Linked DNA regions of Homo sapiens: regions 2 and 3 are each linked to region 1. The links are contacts of gene promoters, found by promoter capture Hi-C in blood cells and fetal thymus (Javierre and others, 2016). All regions are on one chromosome and are shown on one strand. Each heading gives the region's core, a stretch centred on a gene start or on the middle of the fragment in contact. The rest is flanking DNA. Distances are from core to core; before and after follow the strand shown.

The links. Contacts are between HindIII fragments. The CHiCAGO score rates a contact against its expected background, and 5 or more counts as called.
Region 2: a contact is called between a fragment that was not itself captured here and the fragment with the promoter of MRPL58 in region 1, in 1 of 17 cell types (endothelial precursors). The highest score is 5.1, in endothelial precursors.
Region 3: the fragment with the promoter of JPT1 here is called in contact with the fragment with the promoter of MRPL58 in region 1 in 1 of 17 cell types (erythroblasts); the score reaches 5.1 in erythroblasts.

Annotation. Positions count from the first base shown.
Region 1 is chr17:75,010,900-75,014,769 of GRCh38, forward strand. It overlaps MRPL58 (mitochondrial ribosomal protein L58), which reads left to right and starts at 1,771. Exons shown (of 6, transcript NM_001545.3): 1 at 1,771-1,973. The coding sequence starts at 1,788. RefSeq lists enhancers at 1,399-1,548, 1,415-2,098, 1,639-1,948, 1,999-2,078, 2,099-2,781 and a silencer at 1,564-1,746. The HindIII fragment of the contact is 1,964 bases long and covers 642-2,605 here.
Region 2 is chr17:75,211,115-75,214,984 of GRCh38, forward strand. It overlaps NUP85 (nucleoporin 85), which reads left to right. Exons shown (of 19, transcript NM_024844.5): 4 at 878-948; 5 at 1,962-2,005. Among named protein-coding and RNA genes, the nearest start is that of NUP85, 7.4 kb to the left of the region's middle. The HindIII fragment of the contact is 5,491 bases long and covers 1-3,870 here.
Region 3 is chr17:75,152,531-75,156,400 of GRCh38, forward strand. JPT1 (Jupiter microtubule associated homolog 1) reads right to left here and starts at 1,982. Exons shown (of 5, transcript NM_016185.4): 1 at 1,812-1,982. The coding sequence starts at 1,867. RefSeq lists a silencer at 1,578-1,817 and an enhancer at 2,470-3,065. The HindIII fragment of the contact is 22,783 bases long and covers 640-3,870 here.

The sequences.
Region 1 (3,870 bases), core at 521-3,020:
TCGGCCTATAGAAAACCAAGGAGGAGAAAGGGAAGACTGGCCTCAGCCTTTAGTGCCCATCTTTTTGGGAGAACAGGTGGCCCCTTTCTGGCCTTTCTCCCAGGGCCCCCATTCTGGATAGTTCACGGCAGCAGCAGGTAAGAGGAGCTTGCCAGCTGCTCCTCTCTCCACCCCAGGGCGGCTTGCCTCATTCTCTCCTCTACCCACCTCCTCTCCCAGAATCCAGGCCACCAGATGGCCCAAGCAGGCTGTGTTTATTTGGGGCCATGGAAACCTGCAGCTTCCTTTTCCTATTGCCTTGGGTCAGGTGCAGAGCTGGAGCCCAGCCTCAGAGCAATGATGTCATGGAAAGGTTCTGACTTTATTACTCATAACCCCTTAGCCCCCGACCTGAGTGAATGCCTGGTTTTGCTCCTCTGAGCAGCTTATTCCAGTTGCCATAGAGATGCGTCTATTCCCTTTGAGGTCTTGGGACTAAGTCAAACAGCGCGGGACCCAGGAGACTCTCCTCCCAACCCGAGATAGAGCCCGAGATATGTCAATTGTCACCCCTTTCTAGTCTGAGCTTATAAAGCCAGTGCTTAGAAAGTGGTTTATTCCTTCTTAAAGATTTGCTGTAGCCATAATGCGGAGATGGTAAAAGCTTGGTGTGATGACAATCTCCTGTTTCAATCAGCCAGCATCCCCGGGGGCACATTTTTCTAGATAATTATGCTTGTTCCTAAAAATAGAACTCTTCATTAAGAAACAATCGCTAGCATTACTAATAATTATGAACATTTATTTAGCTTTGTTTCCATTTACCACATAGCCTCTCAACACAGTAACTTAACTAAGGTTTAGCTGTTTTCAAACACTGCTTGCTCTACTGTGAACCTTTTTCAGAATTGGAACTTGTCTGTAGTTCATCCCTTACCAGCGCTATGAAAGGGTTCTAGTTAGCTGGCAGTTCTCTGAATTCTCTCCCTACCTCCCGAGGGACCCCCTCTCTCCTGGCTGGAAGAAAGCATCATCTTGCTCCATAAAGCTGAAGGGCGGGGGACGATGTTCCAGGTTTTGCAAACATTTCTTTCGGTGGCCTGCCTTCTCCTCCCATCTGGTATTTGTCCTGCAGAGCTGCTGGGTATAAGCCAGTACACACACGTGCTCAGCGGGGAATTTGCTCATAGGCTGCCTTGTAAAAAGAGCCTGGCGTTCCTAAAACTCAGCTCTACCAGAACCCAACTTTCAAAAGTACATTCCTACAGAATTCATTTTATCAGTACTCATGGGGTGCCCACGATGTGCCATGTTCTGGGTGCTGGGGATATACCAGTGAGCCGGTGCCCTCCTGGAGCTCACATTCCGGCTAGGAGACAGCAATTAGACAATTAGGACTGAGTGATTTTTGTAAAGGAAGAGAAAAAAGATAAATTAGAGCAGAGTAAAGGGGCTGGGAAGCGCGGGGCGGGAGATGCCCCAGGCTGGCCGGGCAGGCCTCGCTGCTGTTTGAATTGGGCAGTGGGCGGTCCAGGCGGAGGGCACGGACTCTGAAAGGAGAGAAGTGGTGTTTCTGGGGGCCACAAGATCGGGGCACTCTTCCGGTAGCAGCTCGCTCTCTGGCCACCGTCTTCCCCAGCCAACCAGGCCTCCCGGAGGCGGCCGGCCAGAAAGCATCGGCGGGACCCCAGTTTGCCGCCTCCCCTCGGCGGGACCTAGAAACTGCGCGGAACCAAAGCTCGAGGGCGGCTCGAGTTTGCGGACCGCGGGGAGGAAGCGCCCGCCGGAAGCAGTCGCAAGACCTGAGCATGGCGGCCACCAGGTGCCTGCGCTGGGGCCTGAGCCGAGCCGGAGTCTGGCTGCTCCCACCGCCCGCACGGTGCCCACGCCGGGCGCTGCACAAGCAGAAAGACGGCACTGAGTTCAAGAGCATCTACAGCCTGGACAAGCTCTACCCCGAATCTCAGGGCTCGGACACCGCCTGGAGGGTCCCGGTGAGCCGGGAAGGACTGGACGGAAGGGGCGTTTTGTCAGGCTGCTGGGTGACGTTAGGAACCCCAGGCCCATTGGCCGGATGTGGAGCTACGTCGGGGGGCTACGTGATGGTCGCCGCGGGAGGGGGCTGGCTGTCTGCGCTAACCTGGCCGGGAGTGGGGTGCTCGCTGTAGCGCGAGATGTGCAGGAGCCCGGAAGGCCGGCTGGGTATGCTTCTTTCAAGGCTGCCAGCTTTTCTACGTTCGTGTCCTTGGCCCTCAAGACCAAATTCCAGTCCCAAGGGGAAATACGGGCATTCTGGCCCTCCAAGGCGGACAATAAAGGCAAGAGGCTGCCAAGTTGTTTGCTACCCTTTGGGACGTTACAGTGTCCATTGTCTCTAGTAACCCCAGGACGCGCGAATAAAACAGCTTCTCTGTCGTTCCTTCAGGATGCATTTATTTAGCCAGCTGTGTGCAGGCATTGAATCAAGCCCCGGAGCAAGAGAGATAAGACCCACCCAAACCCATTGAGCTTCCACTTACAGGACTGGAAAAGAATATCCATTCATTTGTTCATTAATTCACTCACTCACTCAACAAAAGCTGTGCTAGGCTAGGGGATGGAGTAGCAAACAAAATTGAAATTCTAAAGCTTGTGGAGCTTATGTTCTAGTGGAGGGAGACAAGCAGTAAGTAAATGACTAATATAGAATGTGTGAGGTAGTACTTTGCAGAAAATAAAGCCAAGAAGGAAGAAGTAGTGCCAGAGGTAGGAAGTAGGGTTGCAATTTTAAGTAGGATTGTCTAGGAACGCTGTCAATGAGGTGGCATTTGAATAACGACCTGGAAGAAGCCAGACAGCAAGTCATGAGAATAGGGGGCGGATGAGCATCCTAGGCAGAGGGAAGAGAAAGTGCAATAACCTGAAGGCAGTAGCAATCCCCAGGTGTGGCTCAGCAGGGGTCAGGAGACAAAGCCAAAGAGAGGGATGGCTGGGGAAAGGCCTGTTACTAGGACTTAATGGCCTCCAGCCTTTCCTCTGAACGCAAGGGAGACCTATTGGAGAGCTTGAAGCAGAATGGAATTATCTTAGTTTTACAAGGATCACTCAGAGAGCCTTACAGAGAACAGATAGAGGATGCCAAGATCAGGGAGACAAGTAAGGAGATTGCAATGTAGGGCAAGAGATGATAAGCAGGGTGGAAGCAGTAGGAGTCATGAGAATTGGTCAGATCCTAGACGTATTTTGGAAAGAAAGCCTGCAAGATTTGCTAATTGATTGGATGTGAGAAGTGAGAATAAAAGAGGAATTGAAGTCTGGGGCCTTTTTTTTTTTTTTTTTTTTTTTTGAGACGGAGTCTCACTCTGTCGCCCAGGCTGGAGTGCAGTGATGCAATCTCTGTTCACTGCAAGCTCCGCCTCCCGGGTTCACGCCATTCTCCTGCCTCAGTCTCCTGAGTAGCTGGGACTACAGGCGCCCACCACTACAACCGGCTAATTTTTTTTTTTTTTTTTTTTAGTAGAGAGGGGGTTTCACCGTATTAGCCAGGTTGGTCTTGATCACGGGCGTGAGCCACCGCGCCAGGCTTTTTTTTTTTTTTTTTTTTGAGACAGGGTCTTACTCTGTCATCCAGGCTGGAGTGCAGTGGCGTGATCTCAGCCCACTGCAACCTCCGCCTCCTGGGTTCAAGTGATTCTTGTGCCTCAGCCTCCCGAGTAGCTGGGATTACAGGCATGCACCACCATGCCCGACTCATATTTTTGCATTTTTAGTAGAGACAGGGTTTTCACCATGTTGGCCAGGCTAGTCTCAAACTCCTGACCTCAAATGATCTGCTCGCCTCAGCCTCCCAAAGTGCTGGGATTACAGGCGTGAGCCACCATGCCCAGCCAAGTCTGGGGCCTTGAGCAGTGA
Region 2 (3,870 bases), core at 1,005-3,504, 200 kb after region 1:
GCCTCAGCCTCCTGAGTAGCTGGGATTACAGGTGCGTGCCACCACGCCTGGCTAATTTTTGCATTTTTAGTAGAGATGGGGTTTCATCATTTTGGCTGGGCTGGTCTTGAACTCCTGACCTCAAGTGATCTGCCCACCTCAGCGTCCCAAAGTGCTGGGATTATAGGAGTGAGCCACTGCACCTGGCCTGATTATTGGATTTAAGGGACTCTAGTGGAGAATATTGGTGAGTTTGAGAAATCTATTGTCACTTCTAGGAAAAAAACATGTCAAAAGTCCTGTAATTCCTTGCTGGCAGGGGACCCTGTCTTATTCTTTTTTTTTTTTTTTCAGATGGAGTCTCACTCTGTCGCCCAGGCTGGAGTGCAATGGCATGATCTTGGCTCACTGCAACCTCCGCCTGCCGGGTTCAAGAGATTCTCCTGCCTCAGCCTCCTGAGTAGCTGGGATTTTTGTATTTTTAGTAGAGACAGGGTTTCACCAGGTTGGCCAGGCTGGTCTCAAACACCTGACCTCAGGTGATCTGCCCACTTTCACCTCCCAAAGTGCTGGGATTACACGCCTGAGCCACCGGGCCTGGCCAGTAAATACATTTATGTATCTTTTTTATTTTTTTGAGACAAGGTCTGACCAGTAGATTTCATCTGCAACAATTAATGGCAGTATGGGTTTGTGGATATTAACTTTAGCCCATGGGTTGTTTTGTGGCGTTTTATTTTGTTGTCCAAGTTGTTCCAGCTTCAGAAGGTTAGGAGCTCCTTCACAACGGCTCTCCTCTTTCTTTCAGCAAATTTCTGCATTTATTTGAGTGTTTCCTTCCTTTGTGGCACTACAAGATGTTCCAGGCTCATCTTGTGTGTTATTTCATTTTTTGTAGATTGGTTCGAGTGAGTAAAAACTACCGATCAGTCATCAGAGCATGTATGGAGGAAATGCACCAGGTTGCAAGTAAGGACTGTGTGCGCGTGCGCGCGTGTGTGTGTGTGTGTGTGTGTGGGTATTTTGAGTATTTATCTATGCATAAATACTGTGAGGTAAAGTTTGATTGATATTCCAGTCCAAAACTTATTTTTCCATCTTTCATAATCCTTACTTTTTTGGTAATCATTTAGAGGTTTTTTTTTTTGTTGTTGTTTTTTTTTTTTTTTTTTTTTTTTTTTTTTTTTTTTTTTGAGACCGAGTGTTGCTCTGTCGCCCAGGCTGAGGTGCTGTGGCATGAACTCAGGTCACTGCAACCTCCACCTCCCAGGTTCAAACGATTCTCTAGCCTCAGCCTCCTGAGTAGCTGGGACTACAGTTGTACACCACCAAGCCCAGAGTTCTGGGATTACAGGAGTCAGCCACTGTGCCTGGAGTTTTTTTTTTTTTTTTTTTTTTTTTTTGAGACAAGGTTGCCCAGGCTGGAGTGCAAAGAAACATTATGGCTCACTGCAGTCATGAGCTCACCGCCTGGGCTCAAGTGATCTTCCTACCTCATCCTTCCAAGTAGTTGGGACTGCAGGTGTGTACTACCATGCCCAGCTAATTTAAACAGTTTTTGTCCAGTTTTCCTCAGAGAACTTTGTTCTGATAATTTTTAAATTATTTGTAGAAACGGGGTCTCCCTAATTTTTCCAGGCTGTTCTTGAACTCCTGGGCTCAAGCAGTCCTTTGACATCAGCCTCCCAAAGTGTCGGGATTACAGGTGTGAGCCACTGTGCTTGGCATGTCAGAGACCTTTATGGTAGCTGTGTTGCAGTTGAAAGTGCCATTTTGTAACTTGAGGGCTTTTGGTTTGAGAATTGAAGGGATATGAAGCATTAACAGCAACAAAAAAATCCATAATTAAAAGAGATTATAATGTCTTTTAATTTTTCTCATTAAAATAAACAGAGGCTCAAGCCATAGACCCTGGAATATTCAGCTATGACAATAAGCCTAAGAGTTCCATTGCTCACTTAAAATGTTTTGTGTTTTGTTAGTTGCTGCTAAAGATCCAGCCAATGGCCGCCAGTTCAGCAGCCAGGTAAGGGGAGTCACCTTTATTGTTTTAGCACCACTGTGTCCTGTGTCCTGGGCACCCACCTGGGGTGGCTTTGCAGTTCCTGTTATGGCAGAAGTCTCTTCTTTTCAGGTAGATAGGCAGCTCCTTTGGGTGACAGTGATTGTCTTGCCCCCTTCAAGGTGTAGCTCACAAGGAAGTGCTTGTTAAATACTTGAGTGAATGTTCGGTTCCTTTTTTTTTTTTTTGAGATGGAGTCTTGCTCTGTCACCCAGGCTGGAGTGCCCTGGGTTCAAGCATTTCTCCTGTCTCAGCCTCCCGAGTAGCTGGGATTATAGGTGCATGCCACACCAAGCCCAGCTACTTTTTGCATTTTTAGTAGAGATGGGGTTTCACCATGTTGGCCAGGCTGGTCTTGAACTTTTGACCTCAAGTGATCCACCCGCCTCGACCTCCCAAAGTGGTGGGATTACAGGTGTAAGCCACCGTGCTGGCCCTGAATGTTCCGTTCTTATGGAACATATATGTCCTGACCAAATTGTGTTGAGGGGTTGTCACCTGAAATGGAGAAGTAATCTTGTGAGATCACTGCTCGGTCTCATAAACACTCCTCACTTCTTGAACTCAACATTTTTTTTTTGAAAGACAGGGTCTCTCTGTGTTGTCAAAGCTGGTCTCGAACTCTTGGGCTCAAGTGATCCTCCTGCCTTGGCCTCCCAAAGTGCTGGGATTATAGGTGTGAGCTGCCACACCTGGCAAAACTCAAGTTTTTTTTTTTTTTTTTTTTTTTTTTTGAGACGGAGTCTCTCTCTGTCGCCCAGGCTGGAATGCAGTGGCGCGATCTCGGCTCACTGCAAGCTCCGCCTCCCAGGTTCATGCCATTCTCCTGCCTCAGCCTCCCGAGTAGCTGGGCTAATTTTTTGTATTTTTAGTAGAGAGGGGGTTTCACCGTGTTAGCCAGGATGCTCTCGATCTCCTGACCTCGTGATCTGCCTGCCTCAGCCTCCCAAAGTGCTGGGATTACAAGTGTGAGCCACTGCGCCCGGCTAAACTCAACATTTTTACTGAGTTGCAAGTGGCTCTACTTTACTTGGAGCTGGAAGATGACTTACAGTATCTTTTTCCTCAGTAGATGCTTCATATTAGATACTTTTCAAAGTCAGTAGTGACTAGGTAGTAATTCACTGTCTCTGAAGTACCCTTATGAACAAGTCATCATGGTGTCTGTGGACTGAAGGATGGTGAGGAAGGGAAGCCTGCGTATTCCTAAGGGCAAGGTCCAGGTCTGATTTATTTCGGGGTCTTATATTGGGCTTTCCCGTTAATAGACTGTTCCCCTAAACTTCAGTCCTTTGAATACCAGCTTCACAATTCTTGCTCTGTCTACGTGTTTCATGTCATCTACTGAATATTCTTCTAAATATTGTCTCTTCTTTTTACTCAAATGAAGCACCTTGCTAAAGCATCAGTTCATCAAGATAGGCTGGGCGCAGTGGCTCACGCCTGTAATCCCAGCACTTTGAGAGGCCGAGGTGGGTGGATCTCTTGAGGTTAGGAGTTCGAAACTAGCCTGGCCAACACGGAAACTCCATCTCTACTAAAAATACAATATTTAGCTAGGCGTGGTGGTGTGCGCCTGTAATCCCAGCCACTTGGGAGGCTGAGGCAGGAGAATTGCTTGAACCCTGGAGGCAGAGGTTGCAGTGAGCCGAGATCATGCCACTGCACTCCAGCCTGACTGACAGAGTGAGACTCTGTCTCAAAAAAAAAAACAAAAAACAAAAACTGAGTGTTGGCAGGGCACGGTGGCTCAAGCCTGTAATCCCAGCACTTTGGGAGGCCGAGGCAGGTGTATCACGAGGTCAGGAGATCGAGACCTTCCTGGCTAA
Region 3 (3,870 bases), core at 732-3,231, 140 kb after region 1:
ACGAAAGGTGAATTAAACATTCATTTCACAGGATCAGAACTCATTTGTCTCACATTTCAAATGTACACATGAAAAACTAAGTGTGAGGATTCATTTGACCTAATTACTGAAATTCTTTACAAAACACTAATATCAACTCAACCCCAAAGAATAAAACCCCAGATTACACATTATCATTCCGACGACTGAAGTCTAACCGGCAGAAAGTTGGCCTCGTAACACAAAATGAAAAACCAAGGCTCAATCTCTTCCTGTTCTCTGAAGAAATCATCTCATTGGAAAGAAAACAGAAAGGGAGCGACCAGTTTCCTAGGTCTGTGCTACTTAAGTACCCCATCCTCCCAGTAATCACCAATTTATTTTTTTAATCTTACCTAGTCTTTTTGACCTTGTAAACCTGAAAGTATTGAGTTGTAAAGGAATGTCATTTCCCATGCTTTCCTCCTAAGGCTCAATTGCTGAGTGAGGCGTGCTTTTTGTTCCCAAGTTCTCTAACCCCTGTGAGATATGGCTATTTCACGTGTCTTCTTAGCCCCACAAAATGGCTCCCTTTGTGCCACTTGGCCAGGACCCCGAGGGTAGCCACACATGAATGCAGGTCATAATCGATGTAAAATACATGCTCAAAAAAGTGATTTAAGCTTCTTCCAAGCCTTGAAGAGGATCCCAGACATAACTGTAACCCACCTTAAAGAACAGTGTGCAATTAGCTGAGACAATGTGGACACCTTCCACAGAATCCAAACCCTTCCACCAAGTAAGTTAAGCAAGGACTTGGAAAAGGGTTCCTGTCCAAACACTGTACCCAGTGCCCCAAGCCCAAAAAGCAGTGGGAAGAAGGGCAAGAAAAATCCCCCGCTTCCCAGGTAGCGCTACCACGTTAGAGACAATGGATGTCTCCGGCCCCGCCCAAGAACAAGAAACCTCCTCCTGCAAGGGAACCAGGGCCAGGGATGAACTCACTGGGCAAACGTCAAAGGAGGAAGCGAAGGTAGGATGCAAAGGCCACGGTCCGAAGGTTTAAGCGCAGAAAACCCACTCGGGTTGGCTCGTTCCCCGCGCCCGCCCCCGCCCCCCGCCTTAGAAATGAGCGCAGGGATGGGGAGAAGGGGTCTTTCCTTTGTTAGGAAGGGGAGACACTTGGAAGAGGGGAGGCACTTCGAAGAGGGGAAGAACGATTGGGTCCTCAATGGGGGGTGAAGGGTCGCGATGACCAGCCCCGCTCGACCACACATGCACCTGTCAGGTAGGTCCGAATAAGGAGTGGGGGCACGGCGAGGGTAAGGAGCCCGCCGGACCTGATCGATCCGGTCTCCGGATCCAATGGCTGCGCGCGAGAGCGAGACCAACCGCATGCCACGGGGGAGAGACAGGAGCGCGTGGCCCATCAATGGGACAATAGGACCTGACCATGCATGGGGCCCTAAAGGATCCCCGGGCACCTGGGGGGCCAAGCCCACCACCCTGGGGATGCACCAGCCGGGATGCACACAGGAGAAAGCGAAGCCCTCCCCGAAGGTTCCGATTAACGAAAACCGGCCGTGCTCCGAGGGGCGACCAGCCCCGGCCTCCTCAGCCCCTGACTCCGTGGAAGGAATGAATGGAGAGCAGCAGGGACCCGGGTGGGGCCGGCGCGCAGGGCTCGCCAGGCGGCACAAAGGCGGCGCCGACGGCAGAACCCCGCCACCCGCCCCGGCGCGAGCACAGCGCACGGGGCTCGTTACCCGCAACGACCGGCGCGAGGCCCCGCCGGCAGCGGCCCTCCCAGCCCCTCAGCCCCGCGCGGCTCGGGCGCGACCCGGTCGCCTCACCGGGAGCTATTCCTGCTGTTGGGGTCGACTCCCTTGAAGGTGGTGGTTGTGGTCATGGCGCCGAGGAGCGAGGTAGGCTGGCGCCGGAGCAGAACGCTCAAAGGGTCGGACCCGAGGGGCGCTGGGAAACTCCACACCCAACAGCCGACCACCGCTGCAGGAGCCGCCGCTGCCGCCTGTCCGGCCGATCGACGCCTTTATAGGGTTTTCAACCCCCGCCCCCTAACCCGCCGGCATTGGCCGATTCAAATGAATTCTTTCATTCCTATTGGCTCTCTGGAGTGCCAAGCACCATGCGGCATTACGATGGGCTGTGGCGGCCACGGCTCAGCCTAAGCCCGCCCCCTTCCTGGACTGGGAAGGCCTTGGGACTCTCTCCCCTCCCCCACCCCAAAATCTCGGCGATGATTGGACGGAAGGCGAATCTACCTCGCGCTGGGTGGAAGTCGTGCTGGCTGTCACTGTAAAACGTTACCTGACAGAGGGGGAAGCTCTTTCTTGGGGAGTTACAACCTCGGCAAGCAGAAGGGAGATTTGTCACTGTTACTGTTCTCTCATTTGCTTTACTGATGGTGGGATAGTAAGGGCATCCTCCTTAAAGGATGAAAAGTACTGCAACAAGTTGACATTTATCTGTTGAATACCTACTGTGTGTCCCATTTAGAAACCTAATAGTCTCAAAGCAGCCGCACAATGAGTCAGCAACAGAGAGCGCACCAAGATGATCCCTTTTAAAAGGACTGGAAATTCCTTACATTTTAATGTTACTGTTTAGTTGTAATGGGTGGTGCATGTACTGGACCAAAATTACAGTCGCTCCTATTTGGGGGCCTATTCTAAGGCTGGTTAATGCCTGGCACCAGGAATGGACTCATTCCCTGCTACCAAGACTATGGAAGCAGCTCAGGCCTCTGCAGCTGTTTATAACCCTTAAGTCATGACTCTTCCACCTGTCTGGGTAAATCTATCCATGCGACAAATGCAGACACACTTGGAGGATTCAGGAATGATGGTTTACAAGATCATAATAGGAAAGCCTTGGGCAAAAGAGGGCAGGCCCTTCTCATGTCTTGCATATTTCCTCAAGGCAGATGTCTTTGCTTGTCTCAATATTTCCATAATAATTGAACCACATTCCTCTTTGCAAAGCCACCTTTCAGGTAGTTGGAAGTTTGTATTCTGGGCAGTCTAGGTTAACCACCCTCCCCCCCCGGGCTTTCATGAAAAGCCAGTGAGAAGTTCTGTTCTAGAAAGCACGGATGATGCATTTATGTGCTTACCACAACAGCACGAAGCGCACCACTTGTTTGTGTTAGAATCTTCCCTTCTTTTTTTCCTTTCTTTTTTTTTTTTGTTTTTGAAGTGGAGTTTCGCTCTTGTCACCCAGGCTAGAGTGCAATGGCGCTCAATGCAACCTCCACCTCCCAGGTTCAAGCGATTCTCCTGCCTCAGCCTCCGTAATAGCTGGAACTACAGGCGTGCGCCACCACCCCTGACTAATTTTTGTATTTTTAGTAGAGACGGCGTTTCACCATATTGGCCAGGCTGGTCTCAAACTCCTGACCTCAGGTGATCCATGCTCCTTGGCCTCCCAAAGTGCTGGGATTACAGGTGTAAGCCACCGCATCTAGCCAAAATCTTAGCTTTTTTTTTTTTTTTTTGAGACAGAGTCTTGCTCTGTCGCCCAGGCTGGAGTGCAGTGGTGGCGCGATCTCTGCTCACTTGCAGCCTCCACCTCCCGGGTTCAAGCGATTCTCCTGCCTCAGCCTCCCGAGTAGCTAGGACTACAGGTGCGTGCCATCATGCCCGGCTAATTTTTTGTAGTTTATTAGTAGAGATGGAGTTTCACCATGTTAGCCAGCATGGTCTCAATCTCCTGACCTCGTGATCCACCCACCTTGGCTTCCCAAAGTGCTGGGATTACAGGTGTGAACCACCGCACGCCCAGCCAATCTTCCCATTCTTTCTTTTTTTGTTGTTGTTGTTTTCGTTTTTTTGAGACAGAGTCTCGCTCTGTCGCCCAGGCTGGAGTGCGGTGGCATAATCTCGGTTCACTGCA